2 separate regions of the Homo sapiens genome follow, and region 2 is linked to region 1. The links are contacts of gene promoters, found by promoter capture Hi-C in human tissues and cell types (Jung and others, 2019). All regions are on one chromosome and are shown on one strand. Each heading gives the region's core, a stretch centred on a gene start or on the middle of the fragment in contact. The rest is flanking DNA. Distances are from core to core; before and after follow the strand shown.

Evidence for each region. Contacts are between HindIII fragments. The study calls those that stand out against the background at their distance.
Region 2: a contact is called between a fragment that was not itself captured here and the fragment with the promoter of EHD2 in region 1, in 1 of the 25 tissues and cell types used here (mesendoderm cells).

What each region holds. Positions count from the first base shown.
Region 1 is chr19:47,708,979-47,716,467 of GRCh38, reverse strand. It overlaps EHD2 (EH domain containing 2), which reads right to left and starts at 3,046. Exons shown (of 6, transcript NM_014601.4): 1 at 2,930-3,046. RefSeq lists a silencer at 3,070-3,169. The HindIII fragment of the contact is 24,100 bases long and covers 1-7,489 here.
Region 2 is chr19:47,660,671-47,667,306 of GRCh38, reverse strand. The region is part of intron 1 of BICRA (BRD4 interacting chromatin remodeling complex associated protein); the gene reads right to left. Among named protein-coding and RNA genes, the nearest start is that of EHD2, 49 kb to the left of the region's middle. RefSeq lists enhancers at 5,454-5,953, 5,954-6,455. The HindIII fragment of the contact is 7,290 bases long and covers 277-6,636 here.

The DNA of each region.
Region 1 (7,489 bases), core at 1,797-4,296:
GTGGAGGAGGAGGAGGAGCACAGATATTTGTGGTCACAAATATGTGGTCACAGAGCATGGATGGCAGGTGGCAGGAGGAAGAATGGAATTGGGCCAGGCGCGATGGCTCACACCTGTAATCCTAGTATTTTGGGAGGCTGAGGTAGGAGGATTGCTTGAGGTCAGTAGTTGAAGACCAGCCTGGGTAAAATAGTGAGACCCCCATCTCTACAAAAAAAATAATTAGCTGGGCATGGTGGTGCATGCCTGTAGTCCTAGCACTTTGGGAGGCTGAGGCAGGAGGATTGCTTGAGCTCAGGAGTTCAAGGCTGCAGGCTGCAGTGAGCTATGATCATGCCGCTGCACTCCAGCCTGGGCTACAGAGTAAGACCCCATCTCAAAAAAAAAAAAAAAAAAAAAGGCCAGGCACAGTGGCTCATGCCTGTAATCCCAGCACTTCGGGAGGCTGAGGCAGGTGGACCACCTGAGGTCAGGAGTTTGAGACCAGCCTGACCAATATGGTGCAATCCTGTCTCTACTAAACATACAAAAAATTAGCCAGGCCTGGTGGTGGCCACCTGTAGTCCCAGCTACTTGGGAGGCTGAGACAGGAGAATCACTTGAACCCAGGAGGCAGAGGTTGCAGTGAGCCGAGATCCCGCCACTGCACTTGACAGAGCGACACTCCATTTCAAAAAAAATAGGGAGATCGTAGCGAACCAGCTGAAGGAGGAGAAAGATTAATGGTGACATGGTTGAAGAAGGGGGATTGATGGTGGTAGTGGAAGACCAAGAGATGGACAAGGCGAAGGATGCAGAAGCTGCCTGGAAGAAACGGATTCCTTAATCGCTTCATTCATTTCTTCCTCCCTTCTCCCTTCCATCATTTGACACCTTTTCACTGAAATCACTCACTCCATGCTTCAGGCACTGTGGACCCAGAAATGAGCCAGAGATCATCCCCTACCCACCCAGGGCCCCCAGTAAGGACCCAGACACATGCCAGACATCCAGAGGAGGGCATGAGAAACAGACCACAGCACCAGTAAGACTCAGGGCAGGGTTGACTTTTGAGCTGCTCCATGAAGAGCAGGCAAGACAAGGGGATTTAGGCAGAGAGGACGGTGCGTGCAAAGGTCTGGGGATGTGAAAGGTCCTGGTGTACTGGGAGCCATGAAACATCTGGGTAGGTGGCCAGACACAGGGGCACAAAGAGGAGGGGTGAGAAATGGAGCTGAGAAGGTTGCCTGGGTGCACCCAGGTCATGAGGGCTGTTGGGTGTTAACAAGAAAAATAATGCAACATTTATGATCACTGCATGCCAGGTACTGTACTAACTCACTTAACATTTATAACCCTGTAAAGTAGGTCTATTATCATCCCTGCTTTGCTTTGCTTTTCTTTCTTTTTATTTATTTATTTATTTATTTATTTATTTATTTATTTATTTGGAGATGGAGTCTCACTCTGTAGCCCAAGCTGGAGTGCAGTGATACAATCTCAGCTCACTGCAGCCTTCACCTCTGGGGCTCAAGGGATTCTCCTGCCTCAGCCTCCCAAGTAGTTGGGACTAGAGGCATGCACCACCACACCCAGTTAATTTTTTTTTGTATTTTTAGTAGAGATGGGTTTCACCATGTTGCCCTGGGTGGTCTCGAACTCCTGAGCTCAGGTGATCCACCCACCTCAGCCTCCCAAATTGTTGGGATTACAGGTGTGTGCCACCATGCCGGCTCATCTCTGCTTTTTTAACAAGGCAAAGGAGGCTCAGGAAGACAGCAATAAATTACCCAAGATCACTTAGCTGGAAAATGCTCAAGCTGGGACTCAAACACAGGCAGCCTGACCTCAGAGGTTGCAATCCTATTATAGGTCTAAAGATCTGAGTTAGGGAGGTTAGCCATGACCAACCCAGGAGCAATGAGCACCTCCAGCACCCAGACTGTGTTCTCTATCTTCCCTTACTAGCCTTTTATTCACCGTAGGATCTGTAGTGATGTCCCCTCTTTCATTCCCGATATCAGCCACAGGTGTGGGTATTTGCTTTTTTTAAAAAAGAAAAACAAAAACGATTGCTCCCCGTTGATGCTTATGATTTTACTGATCTTTTCAAAGAATCAACTTTTGGTGAGATGGGAGTCTCTAAATACCATTCCCCACTAAAAGAACCTGGGACTCCTTAGAGAAATGGTGGATTCCAGGGCGGGGGCAGGGAAGAACAAGTGAGCCTGGGTCAGAAGGTGAGGAAGTGCTCAAAGGCCGATAGGGCATGTTACAGGGACAGAGGACCCAGCTTGCAGGGGTGCCCAGTGGCCAAACATGGGGCAATTTGAGCATCAAAATAACTGCAAATCAAATATGCTAAAATCCATAAAATCATGAGACTTAAAAGGGGTGGCCAGGGAGTAGGGGAGATAAAAGCAAAAGGAGTTCGTAAAGGAGTGGCAAGAATGGAAAAGAGAGGCAGGATCTGGGATGTGGGCAGAGGGAGAGGGCTCTGGGCGGTGTCCCAGGCAGGGAGGGCCCTGAGAGAGAGCTGGGGAGAATGCTATCAGCGGTGGCCGATGGAGCTGGTGAGGCAGGAGAGGGGCTCTTGAGTGGCTGGAGGGACCAAGTTAGCTGATATGGATGAGGGCGTGGAGGGAGACCCTGCAGAGAGGATCTCTTCTAGCCCAGGGGATAGGGAGGGGTGTTGGGGGAGGATGGAGGAGACTGGGGGAGTGTGAGAGGCTGCGAAAGACTGGAGGAAGAGTGGGAGGAAGAGTGGGAGGAGTGGGAAGAGTGGGGGACATGGTTACAGACTGGGGGGACTGGTGAAGACTGGGGGACACCTGGGGAGACCGTTACAGACTGGGGACAGGGTGGCAGGGAGCAGGGGTCAGGCATGAGGAACCAGGGCAGGCTTGGGCGGGGGTCGGGAGGCGACAGCTGCGGTGCTGGGAGCACTCACCGACGGGGCGCGCTGGCGGCTGCAGCGGGCTGGGCAGGCTGGGAGAGGGTGGGGTCCCGCGAGGATCCGAAGCGCCCGCGGAGCGGCCTGTGCTCGCGGTCCCGTCCGGAGCCGTCTGAGCCGGGTGGGGCCCGGAGCGGGGAGGACGGGAGGGAGGACAGGAGGGAGGGGCGGGACGAGGCGCCCCCCTCAAAACCGGGCGCCCGGCCTCTGGCGCCCCCTTGTGGGGAGTGGGGAAGACGCCTTAGCACGGCGGGCGAGAGCTCCAGCGTCCAGCCTGGGGTTCGAATTCCGCCTCCACCTCCAGCGTTGGGCTGCTCCCCAGTCTGTCTCTCTTCTTAACACGGGAATCACAACAGCAGCAGCAATAATAGTAACAATAACAGGTCGGGCGCCCTGGCTCACGCCTGTAACCCTAACACTTTGGAAGGCCAGGGTGGGAAGATTGCTTGAGGCCAGGAGTCCAAGACCAGCCTGGACAATATAGCGAGACCCCATGTCTATTAAAAATAATAATAAATAATAAAATAATTTAGCCAGGCACAGGGGTGCACACCTGTGATCCCAGCAACTTGGAAAGCTGAGGTGGGAGGATAGCTTGAACCCAGGAGGTCAAGGCTGCAGTGAGCTATGATTGTGCCACTGCACTCCAGCCTGGGTGACAGAGCGAGACCTCACCTCTAAAAAAAATAATAGGACGGGGCGCGGTGGCTCACGCCTGTAATCCCAGCACTTTGGGAGGCCGAGGCGGGTGGATCACTTGAGGTCAGGAGTTCAAGACCAGCCTGGCCAACATGGTGCAAACCCATCTCTACTAAAAATACAAAAAAATTAGCTGGGCGTGGTGGCGGGCGCCTGTAGTCCCAGCTATTTGGGAAGCTGAGGCAGGAGAATCACTTAAACACAGGGGAGGTGGAGCTTGCAGTGATTGCGCCACTGCACTCCAGCCTGGGGACAGAGCAAGACTCCATCTCAAAAATAAATAAATAAACAAAAATTAGCTGGATGCAGGCACGCACCTGTAGTCCTAGCTACTTGGGAGGCTGAGGCTCCCAAGTTCCAGAATCACTGGAACCCAGGAGGCAGAGGTTGCAGTGAGCCAAGATCACGCCACTGCACTCCAGCCTGGGTGACAGAGTGAGAATCCATCGCAAATAAATAAGTAAATATAATATTAATATTAAAACTTAAGGGAGTTGATGAAACTTCTCAGCTGACAACCCTCCCTGGCTCTCCTCTCTCTCAGAGTAAAAGCCGAAGTCCACACCAAGGCCCACAAAGCCTAGCATGATCCACCTACATCTCCCCTGTCCCCCTTCCTCAGGCGGCTCCAACCGCCGTGGCCTCCTCACCATTCCTCAGACACACCCCCAACCCTCCAAGTTCATGGCCTTTGCACTTGCTGACTCCTCTCCATGGAGTACTTTCCCCATAGGGATCTGAATGCCTCACTCTCTCCCCTCCTTCAGGTCCCTGCTCAAATGTCACCTCCTCAGAGAAGTCCTCCAGGATCACCCTGGCTAAGGTAGAACCCACTCTCTACCTCTTATCACTGCCCTATTTTTCTCCACAGCCCTCCCAACCACTCTGCATATTCCACATTTCTCTGCCTAAGGGACTGTCTTTGCCCTGAGAACATGAGCCCCGTGAGGGCTTTGCACAATGCCCAACTCCCTGCAGGGGCTCAGTAAACATTTGTAGAAACAATCCCTAATGTTGACTGAGCCATTCCTATGTGCAGGCACCGCTCTGAGCTCTTTGCATGCATGTATTAGCTCATCGAACCCTCATCATATCTCCAAGAAACAGGAGTTTTGGGGTTTTGGTTTTTGTTTTTGTTTTTGAGACAGTCTTACTCTATCGCCCAGGCTGGAGTGCAGTGGCACGATCTCAGCTCACTGCAACCTCCGCCTCCTGGGTTCAAACTATTCTCCTCCCTCAATCTCCCCAGTAGCTGGGATTACAGGTGCATGCCACCACACTTGGCTAATTTTGTTTTGTTTTGTTTTTTTGAGTCAGAGTCTCGCTCTGTCGCACAGGCTGGAGTGCAGTGGCACGATCTCGGCTCACTGCAAGCTCCGCCTCCCGGGTTCACGCCATTCTCCTGCCCCAGCCTCCCGAGTAGCTGGGATTACGGCGCCCACCACCATTCCCGGCTAATTTTTTGTATTTTTAGTACAGACAGGGTTTCACCATGTTAGCCAAGATGGTCTCGATCTCCTGACCTCGTGATCTGCCCGCCTCGGCCTCCCAAAGTGCTGGGATTATAGGCATGAGCCACTGCGCCCGGCCTAATTTTGTGTTTTTAGCAGACAAGGGGTTTCACCATGTTGGCCTGGCTGGTCTCGAACTTCTGACGTCAAGTGATTTACCCACCTCAGCTTCCCAAAGTGCTGGGATTATAGGCATGAGCCACCATGCCCAACTGAATTGTATGCTTTAAATGGGTGAATTGCATGGCTTCTGAATTATATCTCAATAAAACTGATATTATATATTATATTATTATAATTATAACATTTTATTTATTTTTTCTATTTTTTTTGGAGGTAGACTCTTGCTCTGTCACCCAGGCTGGAGTGCAGTGGCGCGATCTTGGCTCACTGCAACCTCTGCCTCCCGGGCTCAAGCGATTCTCGTGCCTCAGCCTCTCGAGTAGCTGGGATTACAGGCATGCACCAGCAGGCCCAGCCAATAACATGTTACTATAATATTACTATTATATATATAATATATAAAAGGTCTGGAGCTTAATGATAACTTACGTTAATGTTGTTACTGCTAGGAGACAGGCCCTGTTCCAAAAGCATCACCTAAATCATCTCCCTTCCCCCAGGAGGGCAAGTCCTGTTATTATTGTTATTATTATTATTATTGCTATGTCTCAGATGGGAAAGTTGAAATACAAGGAAGTAAAGTCTCAGAGCTGGGTGCAGTGGCTCATGCCTGTAATCCCAGCACTTTGGGAGGCTGGGGCAGGGGATTGCTTGAGGCTAGGAGTTCAAGACCAGCCTGGGCAACATAGTGAGACCCCATCTCTGCAAGATAAAAAAAATCTAAAAATTAGCCGAGTGTGGTGGTGCACACCTGTGGTCCCAGCTACTCGGGAGGCTGAGGTGGGAGGATTACTGGAGCCTAGGAGGCCGAGGCTGCAGTGAGCTGTGATCGCGCCACTGCATTCCAGCCTGGGTGAAAGAAGAAGACCCTGTCTCAAAAAAAAAGAAAGTAGAGTTTGGCCTGCCAAGGTGTGGAAGAACTCGGAGTTGAGCCAGAGTTGTCTGATGGGAGAGTCTTGTTTCACTTCTACCCCAGGGCTTCTCAACCTGTTGCAAAACATTCTGGAGGATCGGCTGGGCGCGGTGGCTCACACCCGTAATCTCAGCACTTTGGGAGGCCGAGGCGGGCGGATCACAAGATCAGGAGATTGAGACCATCCTGGCTAACACGGTGAAACCCTGTCTCTACTAAAAATACAAAAAAATTAGCCGGGCGTGGTGGTGGGCGCCTATAGTCCCAGCTACTCTGGGGGCTGAGGCAGGAGAATGGCGTGAACCCGGCAGGCGGAGCTTGCAGTGAGCCGAGATCGCACCACTGCACTCCAGCCTGGGCGACAGAGTGAGACTCCGTCTCAAAAAAAAAAAAAAAAAAAAAAATTCCGGAGGATCTGTGAACTTAGATGTGGGGGGAAAAAGACAGCTGGAGTTTTCACTAAAATTCAGAGTTTCTGTCAACCACAAATGTTAGCAGCAAAGCACAGCGTCATCAGCAGGACCTGGGTCCCCGCCACCCAGAGGAATCACTGATGCGTTCATCGGTTTGCAGTTGTGGATTTTTTTTTCTTTTTTCTTTTTTTTTTTTGGAAACAGAGTCTCACACTCTTTCCCAGGCTGGAGTGCAGTGGTGCGATCTCAGCTCCCTGCAACCTCTGCCTCCCAGGTTAAAGCGATTCTCATGCCTCAGCCTCCCCAGTAGCTGGGACCACAGGTGCCTACCAACAAGCCTGGCTAATTTTTTGTATTTTTTAGTAGAGACGGGGTTTCACCATGTTGCCCAGGCTGGTCTTGAACTCCTGAGCTCAGGCAATTCACCCGCCTTGGCCTCCCAAAGTGCTAGGATTACAGGCATGAGCCACCGCACCCAGCCCAGTTGTGGATATTTTCAGCGATTGTATACACTCATCGCTCACTGGCCCCACAGCCAGCTCTCTCTAATGAATGCATTGAGGCAGGTTGGCTCACAGCCCAGTCTGCCATGTACTACATCTTTGGGGCCTCAGTTTCCTCACCTGCAAGCTGGGCCTATTAGTTCCCACGCTGGGGCTGCTGTGAGGACCAGATATGCTAACCCATGCGGTTCCCTGTTTAGTAAAGGTTGGTCACTGCTGTTCTGTTCTTCCGCTCGCCTGCAGGCAGTCAGCCTTGCAGAACTGAGTCCCGGAGCCCGTGGAAATTGTGGACGAGTCCTTGTGAGTAATCAGGAGGGGTCTTTCAGGAGAGTCTCTCCGAGAGTTTTGTGATCCAAGGATGTTAAGAAACAGCCATTTAGGCTGGGCGAAGTGGC
Region 2 (6,636 bases), core at 2,672-5,171, 50 kb after region 1:
GCTGTGGCTCACGCCTGTAATCCCAGCACTTTGGGAGGCCAAGGCGGGCGGATCACAAGGTCAGGAGATCGAGACCATTGTGTGAATGGTGAAACCCCGTCTCTACTAAAAATACAAAAAATGAGCCCGGCGTGGGGGTGGGCGCCTGTAGTCCTAGCGACTCGGGAGGCTGAGGCAGGAGAATGGCGTGAACCCGGGAGGCGGAGGTTGCAGTGAGCCGAGATCGTGCCACTGCACTCCAGCCTGGGCGACAGAGCAAGACTCCGTCTCAAAAAAAAAAAAAAGAAAAAAGACATGAACGGGAACTTCCTGGGGAGAGGGAAACAGTCCGTGTTGTGACCAAGGTGTGGTTATGTGAGTGTTCAGAATTTAACAGCTCGGATTTGTGTGTTTCAACACAGGAAAATTTTACTTCAAAGAAGTAAAAAGGAGGGAGGCATGGTTAGCTCACACCTGTAATCCCAGCCAAGGCAGGGAAGCTGAGGCAGGAGGATGGCTTAAACTCAGGAGTTGGAGAACCAGCCTAGGCAACACAGCAAGATCTCATCTCTACAAAAAAATTTAAAATTAGCCAGGGGGTGGTGGTGGGCACCTGTGGTCCAATCTACTCGGGAGGCTGAGGTGGGAGAATTACTTGAGCTACAGAGGCCAAGGCTGCAGTGAACCAAGATTGCACCACCACACTCCAGCCTGGGCGACAGAGTGAGACTCCATTTCAAAAAGAAAAGAAGGCCGGGCGTGGTGGCTCACACCTGTAATGCCAGCACTTTGGGAGGGCGGGGTGGGAGGATCAACTGAGGTCAGGAGTTCAAGACCAGCCTGGTCAACATGATGAAACCTTGTCTCTACTAAAATACAAAACAGCTGGGTGTGGTGGCACATGCCTGTAATCCCAGTTACTCCGCAGGCTGAGGCAGGAGAATTGCTTGAACCCAGGAGGCAGAGGCTGCAGTGAGCTGAGATTGCGCCACTGCACTCCAGCCTGGATGACAGAGCTCAAAAAAAAAAAGAAGAAAAAGAAAAAGAAAAAAAGAAATTGGGCGAGGGGCTGGGGTTACTGCCTGTGCATGCTCACAGCAGGAATCAAGTGCACCTTGACTGATTCTGAGGCTCCCATCCCTGGGCTGCCACTTCCCGTTCCCAGCCGTGTACCCTAAGACAAGTTACTTATCCCCTCTGTGCCTCCGTTTGGGGAGGATAACACTACGTCCTCCATGGGACTGTTACATAGGAACACCTCTAATCCATGCCCTAAAGTACTTTGTAAGCAGTGTGTACGCTAGTTGTGATCATTTTAATTGCCACTGTTGATGCTATCTAATGGGGCGACTCCCAGAGCTTTTGGGCCACAGCCCAGTGAGGCTGGACAGAAGTCCCCGGCCCCACTTTGGTGCTGTTTGCCGCACATGGCCTGTGTGTGTATCTGGAAGGGTTAACAGATCTCCTGCTTCAGCCAGGTACCAGGGTTCTTTGAATCCTTCCAAACACCCTGGTATTACCCCCATTTTCCAGATGAGATAAACGCAATGGAAAACAGCAGTTTTGGGGGCGCTGCGGCACCTGCACTGTGTGCACCCTCACCAGGCCAGCTAGGTGTCTTGCTGCTCTCAACCCAGAAGGCAGGGGAAGCCTTTCAAGACACACATGAAGATTAAAAAAAAACAAAACAACCAGCCAGACATGGTGTTGCACACCGGTAATCCCAGCTACTCAGGAGACTGAGGCAGGAGAATTGCTTGAACCCAGGAGTTCGAGGCTGCAGTGAGCTGTGATCGTGCCACTGCACTCCAGCCTGGGCAAGACAGCGAGACCCCATCCCAAAAAAAACAAAACCAAAACTTTAACATCAAATATCATATATCCGTCTGATGGTTTGGTTGTTTACTGTGTGTCTCCTCTACCGAAATGTCCCCCAGGACAGGAACTTTTGCTTGTTTTGTCCTCTGCAAGATCCCTGGGGCTGGCACATTATGTGGCATACAGTAGGAGCTCAATAAATATCTGTGGGATGAATGAATGAATTTGCAGAGGAAATTAAACAAATCCTTTCATTTATTCAAGAGGCAACCTGCTGAAATGTACATTTAGTAGGCACCTACTGTGTGTCTGGTGGGGGGTGCTGAGGACAGCAAAAGGGCAGAGGCAGACCCCATCCCTGGCTTGGGGAGCACAGCTGGTGGTTCTCAGCCAGGGAGGGTGCTGGAGACCTCTCCCCTACCCCCCACACTCAGAAACTTTTGAAACAGTGACTGAGGTTGCAGAGTGGGGGGGCGGGGGGGTGGGGGTTGAAAACTAGTATGCAGGGTTGCGGACCCAAAATTGTCACCAGCACCCTGGAGACAAGCCCTGGTGTGGCACACTGGCTTTTTAACCATCTGTCCGCTGCCCCCCACCCAGTGGGCCTGCTCCTACGGAAAGATTCTCCTTCCATGAGATGGAGTGGGCGCACTGTGTCTGTTCAGAGCAGAAGCTTCAAGAGCCATCACATAGTTCCCCTGAGTTCCAGAACAGGGCGGACATGTGGCCAGAGCCACAGCCAACCCCCCACGGGCACACACACGAGCGAGAAGCCAGCCTCTGCCACCACGGACCACTGCGACCCGGGCCCACTCGTCACTGTGGCATCACACAGCCGAAGCTGCCTGGCACACCCTGAAGAGCCCGCATTGCCTGAGTGCTTCCGGGTACCAGCCCCTGTGCTTACTCCATACCCACCGATCCCTCCCCATCCCCACGGAAGCACTGCTGATGCACATCTTACAGGAAAAGGAGACTCGGAGGTGGTCAGGACACTTGCCCCAGATCGCACCATGGGACCAGAATTTGAACTCAGACCCTGTGATTCTGAAGACCTCACTCTTCACCACCACACTATAAAAAGCAGGAAAGGCCGGGCCTGAAAACCACAACCAGCTCCAGAGAACAGCCATGACGCAACAATGACACAGTGTCCTTCCAGAAAATTGTGTGAATTCCTCCTCCACTTGTAATGCAATCGGAGTTTTGCGCTGTCATCAGGAGCTGTGCAGAAGCCAGGCTGCTAGCAGGATACGGAATTAAAAGGGCCAGCTAAGCTCCACAAACAGGCGAATTTTAATTTCCCAATATAAATTGGAGTAACCTCAGGTTGCCTGCCAGTAATACAAAGTCTCCAGAACGATATCATTTGCTGATAAGAAGTGCAAATGATGTGGCAAAGTCTATCTGTTGCTTTTCAAAACACCATTTCCCCACCTCTCCTCCTCCGCTCGCAGAAGCCTGACTCTGTGCAGGGTTAACACTTGCCAACGCTAAGATGTAAACAAAGACTGTTCTAGGCCAGTCTTTCTCAAACTATGGGTCATGCCTTTGAAGGTTGTGAAATCAAATTAGCAGGTTGTGACCAGGAACTGCTTTAAATAATTAAAATGCATGGAATGGAATGGAATGGAAGACATTAACGTGTATCATACATGGTAAGAGTGAGTATTTGAGAAATTGGTTTCAATAATGTGTGTGTGTGTGTGTGTGTGTACTGCGACACAAAGAAACATATTTTGGACTGTGAGTTGTGGTCAAAATAGCCTTAAAATAATTGAACTAAGCCAGAGGCATTCCTATCTCCTTTATCAGACACTCACTTTCCCAGCCTTTCTTGCAGTTAGAGTAACCACAGTTGTGCAAATAGTAAAAACTGAAGTGTACAGACAGGTTCTGCTCAGTGAGACTTTCAGGGAAAGTTTTCCTTCCAGAATACAAAGACAGAGTTTCTCCAGAAAGACAGTCTTTTGCTCCTGCTTCCAGTTTTGAATACAGTTGAGATGACTAGAGCTGTGGCAGCCATTTTGCAACCACGGGACAACAAACCTGAGGCTGAAAAGCCCACCAGCAGAGGATGGTTGATGGGAGCTGACAAAAAGACCGTGTTCTTTTTTTTCTTTTGAGACGGAGTCTCGCTCTGTCACCCAGGCTGGAGTGCAGTGGCGCAATCTTGACTCACTGCAACCTCCGCCTCCCAGGTTCAAGTGACTCCTGCCTCAGCCTCCTGAGTAGCTGGGATTAGAGGCACGTGCCACCACACCCGGCTAATTTTTGTATTTTTAGTAGAGACAGGGTTCACCACGTTAGCCAGGCTGGTCTTGAACTCCTGACCTCTAGTGATCCACCCGCCTCAGCCTCCCAAAGTGCTGGGATTTCAGGCGTGAGCCATCGCGCCGGCCTGACTGTACTCTTCATAACTCTTCATGGGCTGCCCGCCTCCAAACTTGTTAATCCTTATGGTTTAAGCCACTATGTGGTTTCCCATTATTTGCAGACAAATACAACCTGACGCAAAAAGAGCTCCCATTTCTGGATTTTCTTTGCAACCCATGGCAAGGCCTCTCACATGGGTCAAGGGCTGTTCTTTGTGGGTCACTGATTAAGAAGAGAGGTCAAACAAAATGTGAGAGGGCTGGTGGAAAGGGGATCTGAAACAAAGGCCACTGTGGTTGATTGCAAAGTGGCCAGAAATTCTCCTCCCTCGTCCCACACTCTTTGCAGCTCCTCCTATTAAGAAGTGGGGTCTATGACTTCAGCCCTTGACCCTGGGCTGGCTTCTTGACTTGCTTTGGCCAACAGAATGTGGTGAAAGTGATGGTGTGTGATTCTTTTTTTGAGATGGAGTCTTGCTCTTGTTGCCCAGGCTGGAGTGCAGTGGCATGATCTCGGCTCACTGCAACCTCCACCTCCCGGGTTCAAGCGATTCTCCTGCCTCAGCCTCCTGAGTAGCTGGGATTACAGGTGCGTGCCACCACACCCGGCTAATTTTTGTATTTTTAGTAGAGACGGGGTTTCACCATGTTGGTCAGGCTGGTCTTGAACTGACCTCGTGATCTGCCCGCCTCGGCCTCCCAAAGTGCTGGGATTACAGGCATGAGCCAAGGAGCCTGGCCGATGGTGTGTGATTCTGAGCCTGGCACACTTCCAGTCTTTGCCCAGCTGCCAGGTGAAGAAGCCCAGGCTGGCCTGCAAGAGGATGAGAGCCACGTGCCCATCACCCCATCACCCCAGCTAACAGCCAGCCAAGCCCTAGACGCAGTCACCAGCTGTCCAACAGCTGACTACAGACACCCAGCCCAGGCCAGAAGCACCTAGCTACGCCCAGTCCAAATTCTAACCGTTGGGATCATGGTTTTCTTTTTTCTGTTTATTATTATTTTGATTTTCTGAGACAGGGTCTCGCTCTGTTGGCCAGGATGGACTGCAGTGGTGTAATCACAGCTCACTGCAGCCTTGACTTCCTGGGCTCCAGGGATCCTCCCACCTTAGTTTCCTGAAGAGCTGGGACTATAGGCGCACGCCACCACACCTGGTTAATTCTTTGCAGAGACGGGGTCCCACTATGTTGCCCAGGCAGGTCTCAAATGCCTGGGCTCAAGCGATCCTCCCATCTTGACCTCCCAAAGTGCTGGGATTACAGACATGAGCCACTGTGCCCAGCCAGGGCTGTGTGTTATGTAGTGACAGCTCACTGATACAGCTCTCTCTGGGGACTTAGGAACCAAGTTTGACCCCACATCTGACTCATCCAAGTTTTATCCATCCCACCTCCCATATCTCTCCAGTCAGTGCCCTCCTGTCCATGACCACTATTCTGGCCCAAATGTAGTAAATGTATTTTCTCATCACCAAGCCTGGGTTCACATTTGGCTTATTGACATCTGGCTGCTCCTGCCATTAAAATACTCAAAAGCTGACCTACCGATTGGTAAATAAATGCTGCCCAAGCAGCCTCAGCTCCTCCTATATGCCTGCCCCACACTGGACACCGAGATGCCATGTGTAAACGACCATAGAAAGCCCTCCTCCCCGGCCCGGCTCCCTCTGGCCTCTGCTCCTCCCCGCGAACCCCCTTCCTCGCTGGCCACCGACTGGACCTGCCCCAACTACGAGTCCAACCTCTGCCTGGGCCACGTGGCTATGAGCCCTGGTGTTTGGGAGTCTGGGCATTTGATGGGTCAGATTCTGTCCCATGAGCCCTTGGCTACGGCCACCTCTGACTTCATCATCTTCGTCACCCCAGCCAAGGTTGCTGAATGCTTACTAAGTACTTCGTCTTTTTTTTTTTTTTTTGAGACGGAGTCTCGCTCAGTCACCCAGGCTGGTGTGCAGTGGCGTGATTTCAGCTCACTGCAACCTCTGCCTCCCGGGTTCACGCCATTCTCCAGCCTCAGCCTCCTGAGTAGCTGGCACTACAGGCGCCACAACCACGCCCAGCTAATTTTTTGTTTTTGTATTTTTAGTAGAGACGGGGTTTCACTGTGTTAGCCAGGATAGTCTCAATCTCTTGACCTCGTGATCTGCCCGCGTCAGCCTCCCAAAGTGCTGGGATTAGAGGCGTGAGCCACCACGCCCGGCAAAGTGCTTCATCTTATCATTTCATTCTCACAGCAACACTATAAGGCAGATGCCATTATCCTCATGCCCATTACACAAATGAGGAGACTGAGGCCAAAAAGGGTTGGGTACTTGCCCAAGGTCACCCAAGAGCCAGGATTTGAACCCAGCTGAGACTCCTAAGCCCGTGGGAACTACATGATGATGCCAGCCTGGCCATCTCTCCCTCCACCCCCCACAGCAGGGGTGTACTACAACAGGTTCCCCACCTCTGCCACT